3 separate regions of the Homo sapiens genome follow, and regions 2 and 3 are each linked to region 1. The links are contacts of gene promoters, found by promoter capture Hi-C in blood cells and fetal thymus (Javierre and others, 2016). All regions are on one chromosome and are shown on one strand. The core of a region is centred on a gene start or on the middle of the fragment in contact, and the rest is flanking DNA. Distances in the headings are between cores, read along the strand shown. Region 1 holds the start of ZNF267 (zinc finger protein 267). Region 2 holds the start of SRCAP (Snf2 related CREBBP activator protein). Region 3 holds the start of RNF40 (ring finger protein 40).

What was found. The method cuts DNA at HindIII sites, captures the fragments that hold promoters and counts their contacts. A CHiCAGO score of 5 or more calls a contact.
Region 2: a contact is called between the fragment with the promoter of SRCAP here and the fragment with the promoter of ZNF267 in region 1, in 1 of 17 cell types (fetal thymus). The highest score is 5.1, in fetal thymus.
Region 3: the fragment with the promoter of RNF40 here is called in contact with the fragment with the promoter of ZNF267 in region 1 in 10 of 17 cell types (fetal thymus, non-activated CD4 T cells, naive CD8 T cells and 7 more); the score reaches 11.6 in fetal thymus.

The regions. Positions count from the first base shown.
Region 1 is chr16:31,872,384-31,875,394 of GRCh38, forward strand. ZNF267 (zinc finger protein 267) reads left to right here and starts at 1,424. Exons shown (of 4, transcript NM_003414.6): 1 at 1,424-1,586. The coding sequence starts at 1,584. RefSeq lists an enhancer at 1,245-1,539 and silencers at 1,426-1,475, 1,626-1,705. The HindIII fragment of the contact is 12,710 bases long and covers 1-3,011 here.
Region 2 is chr16:30,697,629-30,700,639 of GRCh38, forward strand. It overlaps SRCAP (Snf2 related CREBBP activator protein), which reads left to right and starts at 1,543. Exons shown (of 34, transcript NM_006662.3): 1 at 1,543-1,614; 2 at 2,280-2,353; 3 at 2,988-3,011. LOC730183 (a long non-coding RNA gene) reads right to left here and starts at 1,432. Exons shown (of 2, transcript NR_144637.2): 1 at 1,253-1,432; 2 at 79-303. RefSeq lists enhancers at 354-443, 474-663, 1,320-1,614 and silencers at 784-1,193, 1,334-1,563. The HindIII fragment of the contact is 7,629 bases long and covers 1-3,011 here.
Region 3 is chr16:30,760,910-30,763,920 of GRCh38, forward strand. It overlaps RNF40 (ring finger protein 40), which reads left to right and starts at 1,413. Exons shown (of 20, transcript NM_014771.4): 1 at 1,413-1,451; 2 at 1,566-1,768; 3 at 2,209-2,376; 4 at 2,509-2,650. The coding sequence starts at 1,637. It overlaps PHKG2 (phosphorylase kinase catalytic subunit gamma 2), which reads left to right. Exons shown (of 10, transcript NM_000294.3): 10 at 1-267. CFAP119 (cilia and flagella associated protein 119) reads right to left here and starts at 1,153. Exons shown (of 9, transcript NM_001014979.3): 1 at 636-1,153; 2 at 289-320. The coding sequence starts at 839. RefSeq lists enhancers at 1-277, 242-391, 982-1,161, 1,117-1,754, 1,242-1,501 and 2 more and a silencer at 476-705. The HindIII fragment of the contact is 4,015 bases long and covers 1-3,011 here.

The sequences.
Region 1 (3,011 bases), core at 174-2,673:
GAGGGTGAGAGGCAGCCATGCCCCAGGCCAAGACAAGTGCATGGAATCCTGACTGTCAGCAATCAGGGATGTTTCTGCTTTGGGGAGGGAAGCATTTGTTCCACACGTCTCACTGAATAAGGCACAGAGCCTGATCTGTCCCAAGTGGGAGTTTAACCAAGCTAGATGGCGGCCGAGGGCCCTGGCCCAGTTTGACACCCACCTCCTCTCCCACCTTCTACTCAGCCAGAAGACTAGGAGAATCTACTCAGCCGGAAGACTACGAGGTGCTGCAGCGCCACTAGCTCCAAGACTCCAGAAAAACAGGAATAGGGCATTCTGGCAGGTCAAAGCAGACAGAATACTTGAGCTCAGGAGTTGGCGAACTGACTATTAACCTGTAGCCCCAGTTACTTGGGAGGCTAAGGTGGGAGGATCGCTTGAGCTCAGGAGATGGAGACCAGCCTGGGCAACATGGTGAAACCTCATCTCTACAAAAAATACAAAAATCAGCCGGGCATGGTGGCATGTGCCTGTAGTCCCAGCTACTCAGGAGGCTGAGGTGGGAAGATTGCTTGAGCCCCGGAGGCTGCAGTGAGCCATGACTGCACCACTGCACCAGCCTGGGCAATAGAGTGAGACCCTGTCTCAAAACAAAAGCAAAAACCAGAGGTAGGGCTGAGGAGTCCGTGGCCACAGAGCCTGAGCCAGCACGGCCCAGAGGAACTGAGCTCCCAGCCCTGTCGCTGCCAAGGACCCTTCTTCCCTGAGCTTGAAGGGATTGAGAAGGAGAGACAGACGGACAGTCAGCGGCCCCGTTACCAGTGATGCAGACTCCAGGAGATGCGGGCAGAGTTGTAGATTAGAAGAATAGGCCAGCCCCTCTTCCACGTTCCACCACGGCCCGCAACATCCTCCTGGGACCCCAGCCTGCATGCCCCTATAAGATGCTTTTGCACTGGTTCAGTCTATGTATCATGCGAGGGCCTAATTGAAAACACGTGAATGAAGTGTACGGCCTTCTGTTCCCAGCTGAGGGGCCCCCTCCCACGGTGGCGTTAGCAGTGGGGTACAGTGCGGTAAGAGAGGTGCTAAGGGACGGGATGAGGGTCTTTCTTGCTTTAAAGGTGTCTAAATATACTTCTTCTTAAACTTAATTAGCTAATAAGATGTCTTATACAAGCAGAACCAGGTAAGGGAAAGAGCAAGTGTATTTCAAGTCGCAGCTCACCCCTTAATTAGCTGTAATACCCGCAGCAGGCGGCCCCACCTCAATGAGCCAGTCTCCCTTTCAAAAAAAAAAAAAAAAAAGGCACTAATAATGAGGGGGCGGGGCATGGAGCTTTATCCAATCAGGGGCGCTGGAGTGGAAACCGTCCAATCAGGAGTGAAGCCGGAGAGCAGGGGCGGCTTCCGGGATTTGGCGGGGGCCTTCGTCGGCTCCAGTTAGAGCTCGGGTCTCCTCGCCACAGCTCCGAGTCTTTCGTTCTGGGAGGCCCAGGCGGCTTCGCGTTCTGAGAATAAACAGAACCTCTGTTGCTCTGCGACTTGCAGGCACTGGGAGATTCGTAGCTAAGACGCCAGGGCATCCCGGAAGCTGGGAAATGGTGAGTGTGCGGGGTCGGGGGTCCCCAGAGGGAGGGAGGGCGGTGGTCGGAAGCGGCGGGAACCCGCTGTAGGGGCACCCGGGCCTCCCCGCAGTCAGCCTCGGGGTCTGGGCCCCGAGTCCCAACTGGTGCAGCTCGGCCCTCGGTCCCCTCCGCTGCAAGATGGCGGCCAGGCCGGCAGCCGGGACCCCGCGTGTCCTGTCCCATCCCGACCCCGCAGAGCGACCTCGTCCCTGGCCGGAGCCCTCTCTGGGCAGCTCCGCGTCGCAGCCCCGCGTCTCCCCCAGATTGTGCGGTGAGGACGGGAGCGTCTCAGGGGAGACCCAGGTTCGGTGTGTGGGAAGAAACCGTGCCCTGTGGGGTCCTCAGTCACTACTCCTCTTAAGAATTAAAGGGAGTCACTGTTAAAACGTTGAAGAATTTGAGCAAATAGCGATTTGTGACATGGGAAGCCTGCAGTCCTGGTTTGTGGTTCGGAGATCCCCAGAGGGGCTTGAAGGAAAGGTTTTTATAAGGTGCATGAGGAAGCAGACCAAATTAACCGATGGGTTACAGTTTGTAGTTGCCTTATTTAGACTATGCAGGTGGAGGTGAATTGGAGCTTTGTGGTTCGTTAAGTCTGAATTTTGTTTTCCCCTAAAGTTGTAATTTACAAGAAAAGCATTTGAGTTTGGTTTTGGTTTTTCTCCCTAGAAACCTGGGGCACTATAACCACTTCCGTATAATCGCCTGCTCATTAATCATCTTAACACTGCCCAGGGGAACTGGTTTTCCCCCTGCGCTTTCCTAACGTGTAGCACGCAGAGTCTCAAGTCCACCACTGTGTTCCCCCAGTCTAACTGGGCTTGCAATAAAATATTAAATTTCCAGTTCCTTCCCGACATTTCCAAAGGCCAACTTCCCCTCTCCAGTTCACATTCTTAACTATTGGTCATTTATTGTACATTTCAGACAGTATTTTACTCATTAATCATGATTTCACAGAGCAGTGGATGACACTTTTTTAAAGATTTGTGTTTTTTTGGCATACATTTCACGTGAGAGGAAAGCAGAGAATAAAAAATCCCTGACACTCCACTGCAAAAAAAACTGTGCCTCTTTTTCATTCATCTTCCCCAGGCACAGACACGTTATCGGAAAGAATGTCTTTTGACTTGAGGTTTTGCTTTGGAAACTTTACAGGGCCCTGTATAGCCACCCTCTATCCAGTCTTTTCCTGTTCCTGAATTTCAGAACTGTCTGGGATGACTCAAGATGCCCACAGTGGCCATGTCTCCTGGAGTGTTTAGTGACTGTCAGCCCCAGGTCACCTCCTGTTAGAGGACCGCCCAAGGTATGGAAATGTAGTCCCTCAGGGGAGCAGCTGGATGCCCTGGGGCTGAGAGAAATCTCCTGGGACACCCTTAACCTAAAAAGATAACCCCT
Region 2 (3,011 bases), core at 293-2,792, 1.2 Mb before region 1:
TGTTTTAACGCCTGAGCCTCAATTCGTTTGTAAAATGGAGCAGTTAGGATTAAAAGAAATAATCAAGGCACCAAGTAGTGTCAGTAGAAGGTAGCTGTTATTTATTGTTCTATTCTGGGGTAAAGGTATCAGATTCTCAAAGGGATTCTTAATCTAGAAAGTTTGCGAAGAGATGGCAAAGGTGTTTGAAAGCTATCAGGAAACCATCCTCGCGTAAAACGAAGCAGCGCTACAGAAGTGGGCTGCCATGGGAATCGGGAGGCCCAGGTTCCACTGCTAACTTGCTGCAGCTTACTGGGTGATCTGTAAATAAAAAGGGAGGTGGCGGTGGTCCGAGCTGGCAGCCGCAATGCAGCCCCAGGTAGATCTAGGGGCAAACGGTAAAGGCGCTCCGAGGAAGGGCGAGCGCGCAGCCTCTGGGAGACTACACCTCCCAGGCTGCCTTGCGCACCGTGCTGCACCCTACGCTAGCACGCGAGCCTCCCCGTTCCCCCACCCTCCAGTTACTGTCTCTCGCGAGAAGACGGGCCGCGCCGGCGATAGCGATTCCGAGCGAGTGGTGGTGGTAGTGGTGGTGGTGGCGGCCGAGACGGCGGCGGCCATTTTGGTGAGGCCTCGGGAGCGGCAGCGGCGGTTCGCTGGGAGTAGCGTCTGCCCTTTTTCCCACCCACCGTCCGCATCTGTGTGCTGCGCGAAGAGGCAGTGGAGGCAAGGCGGTGGCAGTAGCCGCAGTCTCCAGGGGAGTTTAAAGGCCGCGAAGGCGGTGGCCAAGAGGGGGCCCTCCCCCCTCCTAGGCGGGAGGGGGGGTGGTGCGCACGCCCCCGAGGACGCAGGTAAGGAGAGGGAGACAAGATGGCGAACGCCCCACAGTTCCCCCTCCCATGACGGCTGACTGCGCGCGCATCTTTCCGCCACCGCCTCCCCCCCACCTTCCCGGGGTGCTGCGCGCGCACCCTCAGCCGGGGCCCCGGGGCCGGTGCGCGAGGCTGTCGGCGCGCGCCCATAGAGACAGACTGAGGGGGTCAGGCCGGCCGGCGCTGGGCCCCGGCGTGTCTCCTCTCCCTTCCCGCCCTTCTGCGCACGCGTGCCTGAGCGAGCGAGCGAGCGAGCGAGCCCTGAGAGGACGGACCCAGGTGCGCTCCTGCCCGCCCACCAACCCAGTCACCCCTCAGGGGCGCGCGGGAAGAGGAAGGGGGGCGTGGGACGAGTAGTCGGGGCGCGCGCCCACCACATCTAGCCGGGGGACCAGGACCTGGTGGCACGAACCCTCCCTTCTCTCAGCCTTTCGCGGTCGGGTGATGGGGGGGCTCCCTGACGGGCTTGGATGACGAGCTTCCCAGCCCCGCGACCCTTGTGTGCGTGGGCTCGGGTTCTGGCGGGAGCCCCTGGGCCGTGCGCGCAGCCGGCTCGCTCCGCCTCCAGCCGCGCACGCGCGGGCCCCTCCCCCGCCCGGCGCGCACGTTGGGTGGGGTGGGAGTCTGGAGGGGGCGGGGCTATCTCAGGGCTAGTGGCAACTTGGGCAGAGGTCAGGGGTCACGCGAGGTCAGTCCGTCGGGAGGGCTAGGGAGATGGTCACGAAACCTGAAGTCAAGAGTTAAGGCTTGTTGGCTTCTGGTGAGCTCGGGTCTTGGGAACGTGTGGCGGAGTAGGGAGTGAATCAAAGCCGGCACTGTGGTTTAGGAATTTCCTTAAACACTGGGGAAGCATTTCCGGGCCTCCTGCGGGTTCACACTGCCTGTTTCCGGCGCGTGGTTCTTGGCAGTGCGGCCTCTCGCTTTTGACTGCTCCTGAGTCTCCTTTTGCTGTGGTTCTTGTATTTGGGGAAGTGTCTCAAGGCGCAGGTATGGGATATACAGCGCCCTGCCCTGAATCCTGGGCGGATTTTCCTGTGACCAGCCTGTTTGTTGACTCTTCCCGGGAGTTCCACTCTCACTTCTGCGTTCAGCCCTCACTGGAAAGGCCCGCAGGCAGGTAGCACCTTTCTGAGGTTCTGGATGTGACAGCTTTTTTTTGCTGTATTTTTTTTTTGTCTTCCATTCTGTGGTTGGAGCCTTTACACTTAAAATTTTTGAACTTTCTTTCTTCACTCCTTTCCTGCTCCTGCCCCCAGGCAGGATCGTATGTCCCTCCGGAATTCACAAAACATGATTTGCATTTCCCTGAAATGTGAGATTTTCCTACTACTGTAGTTTTTCTGTTTCTAGTCTTTTAACTGATTTGGGTATATTTAAACGTCTCAAAAAACTGGAGTAAATAATACGCTTTGATGGATGTTTCAGGTGTGATTCCCTTCAGTACGGCGGCACCGTGGAAGTGCAGACTTTCACAGGGGGTGTGGTCTCAGCTCACACAGGTGAGGGATCTGCTACCATTTTGTGTGCTGATGCTAATGGGAGAAATGTTTGAGATAAAGCAATTATAGGTCCGTATTGGGGATTTTCACTCTAGAGAAGCATGGGAATGTTTGCATGTGATTTTTCTGTAGAGGGTTTGATTATAGTACAACAACAGAACTGAGGCTGTGGGTTGAGGAAAACGTGGTCAACCTGGCTCTACCAGGAAGAGTAGCAGGTTTTCCTTGGTTTTGGCATCAGACTGTGGATTGAAGCCCTCCTATCACTTTTTTACTGTGTAACCTTCCGCAAATCATAAGGTCTTAACTTCGTAACTTACAAAACAGATTATATTAGAATGTAAGCTACATTTAGGTCGGGAATCCTTTCTGCATGGCTATATCCGTTGTGTGTAGGAGGAAGTCAATATTTGTTATGCTGTGAAAAGCACTTGGTTTTTAAGGTAGGTGTGAGGATTATAGAACACATCAAACAGGTACTAAAAGTATCTTATACATAGTAAGTGCTCAAGAAATGTAACCTGTAATTTCTGTGTTTCTCTTTATTCAGTGTTATTTCTGGTTTTTTAAAAATACTTTTTCATCCCCTTTAACTGCATTTCTGTCTTTTTTTTTTTTTTTAACCCTACTTTAGGTGCTCCAGAGGCTGGTGGACCTG
Region 3 (3,011 bases), core at 163-2,662, 1.1 Mb before region 1:
ATGACCTTGGTCAAGTACTCCCTGTGGCCCTCAGTGTCCCCCTCTGTACAATACTCCTTAGCGGCCATGAGACTCCATTTACATTCTGTCTTTGGCTCTTTTTTTCTCACACTGCCTCCTCTTTGGACTGGAGAGGCTGGAAAGCCAACTTCCAGTCACCTGGAGTAATTGCATCTCCAGGCCTCAGTCTCATCTGTAAAATGGGGATGCCCTGGCCACAGACAGGACTGTTGGGGAGACAATAAAGAACGCAAATATTCAGTGTAATTTTTGTCTCTTCACACTCACCACATGCAGATCCGGGGTCGGGGCAGCGGCGGCTGCGGAAAGAAAGCGAATTGGGGAAGGCAGCTGCGGTGTCCTGGCCCGTAGCGAATCTCCAGCAGGCCGGAGAAGCCGCTGTAACTTGCCATCTCATCTCAAGGACTAAGGAGAGGCGCGGGCGAGGGAGGGCTTCAGCAGGCCCTAGGTGCTCTACGCGAGCACAGTAACCACCGGGGTCACACACCCCTGCCTCTCCTCGCCCAAGCAGCCCGGGAGACGTCCCGAACGTTAGTAAGCATAATGACAGGTGGCGCCTGCGGGGGAGCCGGTTTATAAATATTCACGAGCAGACCAGACTGTCCCGCCCTCACCGGAAACAAGTTGGCTCCGGGGTCTTCATCCGCTTTCGCCGCCGCCGCCGTCGTCCACTGAGTCCGCACACTCGCACGCGTCCGCGCGGCCGACCCATGCACTGAGCTGCGATCCTTCCCCGCTTCCCGCCGCAGCTCGGAGAGATGTTCAAGCTCCGACTGCACCCTCATTCCCAAAAAGTGGCTGGTCTTGCGGTTGAGCATCTCGCCGCTCTTCCGTGCCGCGAGGCGCCCCGGGCTCCCGCCGCCTAGGTTCCAGGACAGCCAGCGCTCGGTCGGCGGCTACCAAGGCCGGGCCCGTTCGCCTCGCTCCGGCCAATCTACGCGCGGAGAGGCGCGGCGGGGCGAATCCGTGGGGGCGTCTCCCTCCGTCTCAACGGCGACGGTTGCCAAGGGGGCTTGTGAGGGAAGGAAGGCGGAAAGCGCAGGCTCACGCCAGTGGGAGCGAAGAGAACGCGCAGATACGTGAGAAGTTGCGAGTGCCCACCTGGGCGCCCTCTCTTCCAGGTTGCTAATACGAGGGCCGGTGCTGTCCTCCAGGCTGGGAAGTGGGAGCGCGGTGTCAGTTACTATGGGAACTGCCTCTTGGCCAATCACCGAGAGAAAGAGGAGGTGTTTGGGAAGAAGCCAGAGGACCCGAGTGGCGGGACCAAGCGTAACCAATAGAAGCAGAAGATAAAGAAGTTTCCTCACATCCGGGGCTGCCTTTGGCGCCTGCGCCCTGCGCACCGTTGGGGGGGGGGCAGTGGCGTCCAGTGACGCCCAGTGACGTCCGGTGAAATCCAAGATGGCGGCGCTAGGCTGACCCTCCTGCTGGTGAGGGCTCTGGCGCCGGGGGGGACGGGATCCAGCAGGTGTGTGCAGGGTGGAGGGTGTTTGGGGCTGTGGAACACCAGCCGTTCCCACATCTCTGCTCTGTGTCTTCTGCAGGTGACGGAAGTACCGCCTCCTCCCGTTTGACGCCCCTCAGGGGACCCTGCATCGCTCCAGCCGCCGCGGCCATGTCTGGGCCAGGCAACAAACGCGCCGCCGGCGACGGGGGCTCAGGGCCCCCGGAAAAGAAGCTGAGTCGTGAGGAGAAGACCACCACGACTCTTATCGAGCCCATTCGTCTTGGAGGCATCTCTTCCACGGTTCGTGGGCTCTTGCCTTAACCCTCAGAACTTCCCAGAGCCCTCCCTCTGTTCTCTGGCCAAACTGTGCGGAATCTTACACCCACTTCCCCAAGTTTAGCAAGGTCCGCGTTACAGGACCTTGAAAGAAAGGTTAGAAAGAAGCTCAGAACACGACGCCTGTCTTCCCTTTACAGATAGGAAAACAGGTTTCCAGGGGGCGTGTGACTTGTCAAAGACTAAGGATTTACAAGGGGACAGGCAGAAACAACGTGAGCCTCCTCACAACAAAGACACTTTCGCTGTGTGTTGTCTGAGCCTCCTTAGATTCTGTTAGCGGTTAGTGTGGGAATACCTCCATCTCCCATGCATTGCAGATGCTCTGCTCCTCTTTCTCTCTCTGTGATTGGTTTGTGGGCCCTGCTTGACGCTCTCGTCGGCCCCTTTGTTTCCTTTGGTAGGAGGAGATGGACCTGAAGGTACTACAGTTCAAGAACAAGAAACTGGCAGAGCGGCTGGAACAACGGCAGGCTTGTGAAGATGAACTCCGAGAACGAATTGAGAAGTTGGAGAAGCGGCAGGCCACAGATGATGCCACACTCCTCATCGTCAATCGCTACTGGGCCCAGGTGGATACCTTCTGCTTTCAAAGACCAGGCCTTGATTCAGCTGCCAATCCCCAGATTCCCCTGCTAGGAAAGGAGTATCATGTTGGAAAGCACTAAGGGATTCATAACATTTTTGATGTTTTCTCCTTCCAGCTGGATGAAACTGTGGAAGCCCTTCTCCGATGCCATGAGAGCCAGGGGGAGCTGTCTTCAGCGCCTGAGGCACCTGGGACCCAGGAGGGGCCAACATGTGATGGGACTCCTCTCCCAGAGCCGGGGACATCAGAGCTGAGAGGTAGGACCAGAGTGCTGGGATCTGGGGAGCTTAAGTTCTGGGAGAAGTCCTGGGGAGGAGGGGACTTTGGTGTTGGGCCCCTGAATTGCCTATCTTACTACTTCTCACGAAATGGATTTCATGTTTGGGCAGTAAAGTGCAGTGCACAAAAACACAGGCTTTAGACTCTGACTAACTTGGTTTATAGAGCAATTCATGTTTTGACACCCATTTGTTTCAAAACAGTATTATGGTTGAGTATTAAATATGTATTTGACGCTTCCTAGAAATGAGTGTTGCACTTGCTATAAGGGAGGAAATTATAAACATAGTAAGCAGAAAGTACTGGGGCTCCTGAAACGGAATGATTGTGTGTGCATGC